2 separate regions of the Homo sapiens genome follow, and region 2 is linked to region 1. The links are contacts of gene promoters, found by promoter capture Hi-C in blood cells and fetal thymus (Javierre and others, 2016). All regions are on one chromosome and are shown on one strand. The core of a region is centred on a gene start or on the middle of the fragment in contact, and the rest is flanking DNA. Distances in the headings are between cores, read along the strand shown. Region 1 holds the start of OSBPL1A (oxysterol binding protein like 1A). Region 2 holds the start of LOC124904268 (a long non-coding RNA gene).

What was found. Contacts are between HindIII fragments. The CHiCAGO score rates a contact against its expected background, and 5 or more counts as called.
Region 2: a fragment that was not itself captured here is called in contact with the fragment with the promoter of OSBPL1A in region 1 in 1 of 17 cell types (M2 macrophages); the score reaches 5.9 in M2 macrophages.

The regions. Positions count from the first base shown.
Region 1 is chr18:24,396,574-24,401,287 of GRCh38, forward strand. OSBPL1A (oxysterol binding protein like 1A) reads right to left here and starts at 1,251. Exons shown (of 28, transcript NM_080597.4): 1 at 1,082-1,251. LOC124904268 (a long non-coding RNA gene) reads left to right here. Exons shown (of 3, transcript XR_007066314.1): 3 at 4,527-4,714. RefSeq lists a silencer at 1,185-1,314. The HindIII fragment of the contact is 23,089 bases long and covers 1-4,714 here.
Region 2 is chr18:24,357,740-24,362,477 of GRCh38, forward strand. The region is part of intron 4 of OSBPL1A (oxysterol binding protein like 1A); the gene reads right to left. It overlaps LOC124904267 (a long non-coding RNA gene), which reads left to right. Exons shown (of 3, transcript XR_007066312.1): 3 at 2,253-2,291. LOC124904268 (a long non-coding RNA gene) reads left to right here and starts at 2,337. Exons shown (of 3, transcript XR_007066314.1): 1 at 2,337-2,372; 2 at 3,110-3,184. The HindIII fragment of the contact is 4,252 bases long and covers 605-4,738 here.

The DNA.
Region 1 (4,714 bases), core at 1-2,500:
CCCCCTATAAACTGTAGACAAAGCCCACCTAGTGGTTTAGAATTAGGGAATTAAAAGGTGGATTTTGTTACTATGCTGTAATTAAGAAATCTTCACAATTCCAGCTTGGGGTGGGGAGGGAGGGGGGTGGTTCAGAATTTATACCTATCAAACTGCTGCAAAAAATTCATTGTATCGGGGTTAGACTGCAAATACTTCTACCCCTCAAAACGAATCTGCAAATTATTTCCCAGATGCTGAGTAAAGAGGTGAGGAGGTTCCAAACTCCAAATCCAGAATGCACCTATTACAGGGCAAAGACTGAAGTTTTCAGGGAAAACACATCACCGATTTTAAAGCTGATTTAATTATATTATTAACTATTCACAGACACCTAATAGCCACATTTGCAACATTCAAGCAACCTTATTTAAGCTAAGAATATCACACTGCCCACAGTTCCATTTCACAATACCGTCTGCCTAAAAACGACAACTTGAACTGAAAACTAATACTAAATCAGAATAACCCTTTTCAATGCCTCCTGCCAATCATTAGGGCAGCGGGATAAGTGAATTGTTAAAGTCTATTGTGCAGCTGCGCTCTCATTCAGTTTCAGAATCTCCCTTGGATATTCGTTCATGCTTGTAGAACCGACCACGCGGTACATTGGGAAACGGTCACATGAACAATGCGTGACTTCCATTGTGCATCAATCCTCCTCTTGTTAGGAGGAAATTAAAAAGTCACATGGACACACGAAAGTACCGAGAAGGCACGCAGCTGAAGATCTGGTAGGGGATGCATGCGGCACCAGCATGGTCGTGGCACCCGAGTGGGAAGTGCAACAAACGCCAACATCTTGTTACTTTTAACGCCTAACTTCCTGCAGCGCTGGAGCAGCCAGCGGCCGCCGGGAAGCCGAGCTCGGCTGCAGCCCTGCGTCGCCGCGCCACGACCCGACCATCCTCTGAGACGCCCGGGACGGGAGCGCCCACCCCCAACCAGGCGCGGACAGACCTCCCGAGCGCAGCCCGGCGGGAACCCGTCAGCGCGGGAACCGGCCTCGAACTCCAGGCGTGGACAGCCGCGAGAAACTGACCTACGCGGTCACCCGGGCTCCCAGAGCTCCCGAGGCGGTGGCCACGACCCCAGGCTTCCCGTCCGCCCGCCCCACGTCGAGGAAGTGGTCGTCACCAACTCTGGCTGGCACTCCCCGAGGACGCTCGAGCCCGCGTAACGTCTGTCTCCGGGACCCGGCGCCGGGACCACGGCGGAGCGCGAGGTGGCGCCGCCCCTCCCCGCAGCCCGCCCCTGGAACGCGCATCCTCCTGGCGAGCTGGCATCCCTCCCGACACGTGACCGCAGCGGGGACACGCCCGTTCCCCGCCCACTCCCCGCCCCTGCCTGGCCTGCCCACGCCCCCGGCCCGCTCCTGTCCCGCCTGGGCCACCGGCGCTGGTTCCAGGTTTTGCCAGCTACTAGGGACGCGTAAAGCCTTCGCGCTCCTCCCACCACACCCCGAGGGAAGAAGTGGCAGGCCTTACCCGGAGACTACAAGGAACCGCCCGTGTGAGCCAGTGGAAGACTCGCGTCCCCAGGCAAAATATAAGTCCTGGGTTAATAGTCTGAAGTCTGTCATTAAGCAATAGGTTATCCAGCTGCCCAGATTTTTTTCTTTTTTGCTTTGGCTGCAACTCGACCCGTGGGAACTTAATTGGCAATGTAAATTAGACAATTTACAAAAAAACACCTCCTTTTACTTTCACCTGTGAAAGGAAGCGCTTAAAATGCCATACAGGTGTAACCATTATAGAATAGATATGCGTGAGACAAGGATTTACAAAATTTCCTCACCTCCTCTCCTCCAGATTCCATGCACAAGGCGTCTAGCTAGAGGAGTTAGCAAATAGTCTATAACGTGAAGGTTCAAACTCTAGTATAATTCCACCGTTTTTGTTTTTTTCTTTTTTTGAGGCAAGGTCTCACTCTGTCTCCCAAGCTGGAGTGTAGTGGCGCGATCTCGGCTCACTGCAGCATCGTCTTCTGGGTTCAAGCGATCCTCCGGCCTCAGCTGGACTACAGGCGGGTAATCAAGGGACTGGGACTACAGGCGCGCCCTGCCGCGCCCGGACAAGTTTTGTATTTTTAGTAGAGACAGACTCTCCCTATGTTGCCCAGGCTGGTCTCCAACTCCTGGGCCTCCCAAAGTGTTGGGATTACAGGCGTGAGTCACCCCTGCAGGCCACAGCTTTGCTTTTTAAAAGCATTTCTGCATAACTAAAAAGACAGGAAATTACGAGCATACGAAAACTGATTTCTGCTTTCCTGAATTTTCTAAATGTATTTAATGAACATGTTCTTTTGCAATGAAAAAGTAATAAATAGGTATCATTTTTAAAAGGACTGTAGTTTTTCCATCAAGTCTAGAAGCATGTATTGAGAACCTATAATAGGCCCTTTTGGTCATTGTGATATGTGTGAAACAGCATATGGCAGATCTTTTGAAATGATGTTTTTGGATACCACAAGCAATCCTGCTGGTGTATCTCAGGCTGGCATCATCTTTTATTAACAAAGCAGGCACTTTACTAGCACAATACTTCAACTGCAAAATGTGTGGTAACTAAAGCAGCTGTATTTGTCTGGAAAAGAAGAAACCTCAGGGCTTACTATCTAAGGATATTGAACCATCTTTTTTTTTTTTTTTGAGATGGAGTTTTACTCTTGTGCAGTGGTGCAATCTCAGCTCACTGCAACCTCTGCCTCCGAGGTTCAAGCGATTCTCCTGCCTCAGCCTCCTAAGTAGCTGGGACTATAGGTGCGTGCCACCATACCCGGCTAACTTTTGTATTTTTAGTAGAGATAGGGTTTCACTATGTTTGTCAGTCTGATCTCAAACTCCTGATCTCAGGTGATCCACCCACTTCAGCCTCCCAAGGTGCTGGGATTATAGGTGTGAGCCACCACACCCAGCCTTGAACCATCTTCATAGCCAAAATAAAACTACCGAAATAATGACAATAATAATTGGCTACTGAAATAATTTTCCATGATTCCATGAAAGCCTTCATTCTCTCTGTGATGATTTAATTACCTAAATTCACAACTTGCACTTTGCAACTCCCTTCTACAGTTTGCAAATGAAAAACAGATTGCAGTCAATAGGAGGATGAAGTAGTAATCACTACAGTTATCAATAAGAGAAGTTCCAATCTTGATAGCATTACTATTTATACTGTATCTTTAAAGGACTTTATTTGGTATTTCCATAAAATATGCAGAAAAGATATCTCATGGGCATTTATATTATTGACGGCTAGTACAGGTAAAATCACCATGATGGCATAACAGAATTCATTATTCTAGAACACTGTGTCTAATGGAACTTTCTGCGATGATAGAAATGTTCTATAATTCTACCTTGTCCAGTACAGTAGCCACTAGCCACATGTGGCTATTGAGTACTTGAAATGTGGCCAGTGTGACTGACGGTTTCAAGTTTTATTTAATTTAAATAGCCACATGTGGATAGCAGTTACCATATTGGGCAGTGCAGTTCTAGAATAACAAAACTATCACTAGATTGTCCCCGTCATATCATACTCTATTTTAAGAAACATTTGGCAGAAGTAGAACCTCTGGAACTAGTTAATAAATATTTTCCTTCATATTCCTTTCTGAGCTTTAGGCAGATAGATATTTTAACTTTGCAGATGCGGCATATTAAAGTAACTAGTAATATAATCCCTACATATATAAGTAGGAATTGCAATGGAAGCTCTGACTGGTTGTGAAATGGATTTGGGAGTATCTAACCCCTGGCCCTGCCATTCCCGGGCCTGCCTGACCCACATTGAAAAGTGAACCGGGTAACTTAAGACTGGGATGGGCTTCATCAGAATTGTTCATTGCCTGGTTCAGACTGGATTCACCTTGGACTCTTTTGTTTCAGGAAACTTAGGAGCCCAAATCTCTCTACTGTCATCCCCCTCCCCGCATTCCAATGACCTCCTTCAGAATGTGATCCTCTTTAGATTGTAGTACCTAATGTCTGGTCCTTGCAGTTTTGTCTCAAGCCTGAGACATCCCAGAATGCACTTAGTGCATTGCATGTTTTAAAAACACTCCCCTGGTGCCAGTGTGACTTTGAAGTGGTGCAGGAACACGCTAAAGGCTTAAGTCTCATTAAAAGGAGGATTTTATGGACTGAGACTTTGGGGAGGGCTTTGGGTAATTACTGCCTGGAATACTGAAAAGTAGGTCAGATGTCATCAGGCGAATGCAGATAAACCATTGAGTTGAGGGAAATGAATCATTCCCTTATACCTACATATGAAAGACTTTGTAGTTACTATTAACTCCAGACCATCAAAGCTATGAGGTCATTGGGAGTTTTTCTCTCTTAAAAGTGGTCTAAATTTGTTATTTGTCATTTGTGCCATTTCACTCAGTTTATTTAATAACAGGAATGAATTGGTATAGTTTCAGATATTAAATTCTTTTGGTCTAGACTTAATTTTGTACCCATCTCTCTTTTCCTGCAGGTATGACACACAGATGTCTAAGCAACTGCCTTCCAGCAGTGATTGATTTTGCTGGTTCCCCACACAAAAAGTTTGGAAGAGACCCTTATGTCTTCTGTAGAGTTTCTTGGTTGTAAGCAGCAAGCACTGGTGCTGGCTAACTTAAGCAAATAAAGAATATATCACTCAGACATCAAAGAAACAGCTGG
Region 2 (4,738 bases), core at 1,481-3,980, 37 kb before region 1:
TGGGTGGGAGGTAAAACTTAGGAAGAATTCAGGAGCTTTTCCATGTCAGTAAATTTTTAGAAGTTCACTGGTCTGGGCAATGACAAGACACTTCCTCAGAAGAATAAATTACTGCATCTTGCACTTCCCATAACAGAAGGGAGCACAGTGCCTGGTTGGCTTCAACAGGTTTTGGGGCAGCTTATTCCACACCTAAAGATAATGCTCTGATTCGTATGCTAGAAGGCACCAAAGGCTGCCTGAACATTGGGGTCCTTGCATCCAAGGACCAGCAGGCAAGAATAGTCACCATCTTAGCAGAAGTAATTGAACTTGATCAGCAGAAAAAAGTAGGGCTGTACACATTGGGGATGTACGTGGAAGAACAGGTTTAGCATACGATGAGAAACTCAGGTGTGTCCTGGTATTCTCTTGTCCAATTTTTATGGTAAATGGACAAGGGCAGCAACTCCAGCCTAAGAAGGGCATGGTATCCAGGGGCTCAGACCTCCAGGGATGAGGGTTTCCAGAGTATCCACGTATCCATGACTGACTGTCCCAGTGTATAAAGGCCTGGCTGCTCATCCCCAACAGGGACAACTTTGAAGCATCATCTCCTCTGCAAAGCTTCGCACACAGCAGAAAGGCTGAGGCATCGCTTGAGCCGGCAGCACTACTTGACTTGTCCACTCCTGTCCACTTCTTCCCCACCCTCGTGCACAGGTGTGATGCCACGAGCACTCCATAAACCTGCTGCCCACTCATCTCCATCTCAGCTTCCCTGAGAACAGATCTAGAACAAATTATATGTATATATTTCAAGGCAGTCATTCTCCATCAAATGAAACGATACGTGTCAAGTTGTCTGGGCATCGCCTGAAACACAGTAGGCCTTCAATACATAAACATGAGAAATGGTCTCCTAGGAAATCCTAAAGCCCAGGATTATACATATATTCTGTATGTTAGGTGAGATAGAGAGAATTTCTGAGACACAGAACATAGGAAGCATTTATTGTATTTGTTTATTTACTATTTTAGAGACAGGGTCTTGCTCTGTCATCCAAGCTGGAGTGCGGTGGTGCCATCATAGCTCACTCACTGTAGCCTCAAACTCCTGGGGCTCAAGCGATCCTCCTGCCTCAGCCACCAGAGTAGCTGGGACTACAAGCACATGCCATACATCCAGCTTTGAGTTTTTTAGAGATGGGGTCTTGGCTGGGCACGGTGGCTCATGCCTATAACCCCAGCACTTTGGGAGGCTAAGGCAGGCAGATCACTTGAGCCCAGGAGTTTCAGACCAGCCTGGGCAACATGGCAAAACCCTGTCCCTACAAAAAATACAGAAAATTAGCCAGGTACAGTGGCACATGCCTGTGGTCCTAATTCCTGGGGAGGCTAGGGTGGGAGGATCACTTGAGCTCTGGATGTGGAGGTTGCAGTGAGCTGAGATTGCACCACTGTACTCCAGCCTTGGCGACAGAGCGAGACCCTGTCTATAGAGAAAGAGACAGAGACAGAGAGAGAAAGAGAGAGATATGGTGGGGGGCGGGAAGAGGGGGTCTTGTTATGTTGCCCAGGTTGGCCTCTAACTCCTGACTTCAAGCGATCCTCCTGCCTTCGCCTCCTGTGTAGCTGGGATTATAGGTGTGAGCCACTACACCCGGCTCTGGAAGCATGTGTTTTACAAGCATTCTCAGCTGGGCGTGGTGGCTCATGCCTGTGATCCGAGAACTTTGGGAGGCTGGGGTAGGAAGACCGCTTAAGGTTCAAGACCAGCCTGGGCAACACGGTGAAACCCTGTCTCTACAAAAGATTTTTAAAAATTAGCCAGGTACAGTGGCGCACGCGTATAGTTCTAGGTGGAAGGATCTGTTGTGCCCAGACGTTCAAGGCTGCAGTGAGCTATGAGGGCCCCACTGCACTCCAGCATGGGTGAAAGAGTGAGATCCTGTATCTAAATAAATAAATAAAAATTAAAAAAAAATAAAAGTATTCTCAATTCTGCTAAAAGGTCAGTGCAACAATCCAAATATTCATTATACATACCATATTCCTATTTTAAATTGATTATAAAAGGCATAAAAACTTTATAACTGCATCTGAAAGTAAAGTAAGGAACAAATACTAAACACAGTATTTTAAAATTCTGGTATTCTGATTTTTACCAAAGAACACTAGGGGGCACTAATGTACCAAGAAAAGCCCAAAGGTGCCTCAAGAGCTGGGGAACTGCATGATTTTTTTGTTTGTTCTGTTTTTGTTTGAGACAGAGTTTCGCTGTGGTCACCCAGGCTGGAGTGCGATGGCGCGATCTCGGCTCACTGCAACCTCCGCCTCCCAGGTTCAAGTGATTCTCCTGCCTCAGCCTCCTGAAGTAGCTGGGATTACAGGTACCCGACACCAGGCCCAGCTAATTTTTTTGTATTTTTAGTAGAGACAGGGTTTCACCATGTTGGCCAGGCTGGTCTTGAAGTCCTGACCTCAGGTGATCCACCCGCCTTGGCCTCCCATAGTGCTGGGATTACAGGCATGAGCCACCGTGCCAAGCTGGGGAGCTGCATTTTTTAAATATTCCAGAGGATAAGAGTTTAAAGTGCTTTATAATAAGCCAAATCCCTTTTCAACTCAACATTCTACTTACTGAATCACAGGATCATAAGATATTTTAAAATTATCTTCATGGTAAATGATCACATAGGAATGAGATAACTTGATTCTTTTCATGAGAATTAGAAACCAAACTCTTTGCACAATTCAGTCATGCTTAGATATTGAGCACATACATTTTTTAATTTTAATGTTTCCTACATAACACAATCATGTAACTTCAGCTAAATGTTATTTTCTAAGACAACAGATAACAAAATACAGCAGATCTTCAAACAACACCATTTCATTCAACATCATTTCATTGCAATGTTCACAAGAAAAAAAAATCGATTCTTGGAGGGGGCCAATGTCTGTTGGAGTTCACATGTCCTTGTGTCTGCGTGGGTATCTCAGGTACTCTGTTTTCTTCTCACCTCCTAAAGATGTGCATAGCAAGTGAACAGGCATGTCTGAACTGTCCCAGTGTGAGTGTGGGTGTGTATGTGAGTGGCCCTGTGACAAGATGCATCCTCTCCAGGCCTGGATCCCCCTGTGCTCCCTGAGCTGCCGGGATAGGTTCCAGCCACCCTCACACCTGAACTGGAATAAATGGGTAAATAATTATCTTGTTTTTACTAATGTTTCTAAATGTATGAATAGCTCACATTTATTTCAATGTTTAATATCAGAAGTGTTTGCTCTTCATTTAGAAGTGTGGTAATTTTCTTTTCTTTTTTGGCACAGAGTCTCACTCAGCTGCCCAGGCTGGAGTGTGGTGGCACAACTGCGGCTCACTGCAGCCTCAACTTCCTGGGCTCAAGTGATCCTCCCATTTCAGCCTCCCGAGTAGCTGGGACTACAGATGCATGCTACCACATCTGGCTAATTTTTGATTTTGTAGAAGTGAGGTCTCCCTATGTTGCCCAAGCTGGTCTTGAACTCCTGGGCTCAAGCAGTCCACCTGCCTCAGCGCCCCAAAGTGCTGGCATTACAGACATGTGCCACTATGCCTGGCAGTGATGTTTTTTTGTGACTATAATTATTCTGTAGGAACTTAACTCTTGTTTATATGCATTGGCCTATGGTGAAGTTGGTTTCCTTATACATCGTTTATCCAAAAGTTAGTTTCCAAAAATCTATCATTGACATTAAGTGAGGACTTACTGTATATATGCTGATGCTCATGTCAAACTAAGGCTCAATTTAGCATGGTCTCACGTTCAAAGTTCAAGAAAATAGCAGAAATGGCCAAATATGTAAAGAGCTGAACATAGATAAATGAACTTATTTGATCTAGGTGATTACAGAGATGGGAGGTAAAACTTACCTTGTGCTCATGGGGACACAAAAAACAAGACATGATAATTCCTTGCTAGCAAGATTAATGCAACTTAGTAGCAGAGTTAAGACACAGACTACAGACTGGGTGCAGTGGCTCCCTCCTATAACCCCAGCACTTTGGGATTGAGAGCACTTGAGGTCAGGAGTTTGAGACCAGCCTGGCCAACCAACATGGTGAAACCCTGTCTCTACTAAAAATACACACTATGGTGGCACATGCCTGTAATTCCAGCTACTCAGGAGGCTGAGGCAGGAGAATCACTTGAACCCGAGAGGCGGAGATTGCAGTGAAGTGAGATCGTGCCACTGCACTCCAGCCTGGGTGACAATGGGAGACTCCATCTCAAAAAAAAAAAAAAAAAAAAAAAGACATAGACAAAAATAACACTAATACAAGGTAGAAGACGAATGAAAGTGCTGTACTGTGCCCAGGAATCCTGGAAGAGTATAGTTTCCTTCCAGCTGCAAGATGTTAGGAAAGAATTTATGGATATTACATTTGAGTAGCACTTTGAATGGGTAGATCTGGGCCATGTAGAAATAGATGACAATAGAATTTTCTTAGGTATATAGAAAAGAATGAGCAAGACCATAAAAAAAAACAGCAAGTAGTTCACGTAGTCAGGCAAATCGAGCCATCTGCAGCTCATATTTGAAACCCCACAAAGTCAAGCATAGAAATTAACCACAACCTTTATTGTTTATTATAAAAGGTTCTTTTTTCTCAGCTTGAGTTAAGACTCCATATCTGGTTCACAAGTATCAATTTATGAACAAATAGACAAGAGTGGTATAAAATGTACTAATTCAAACATGCTTAGCACAT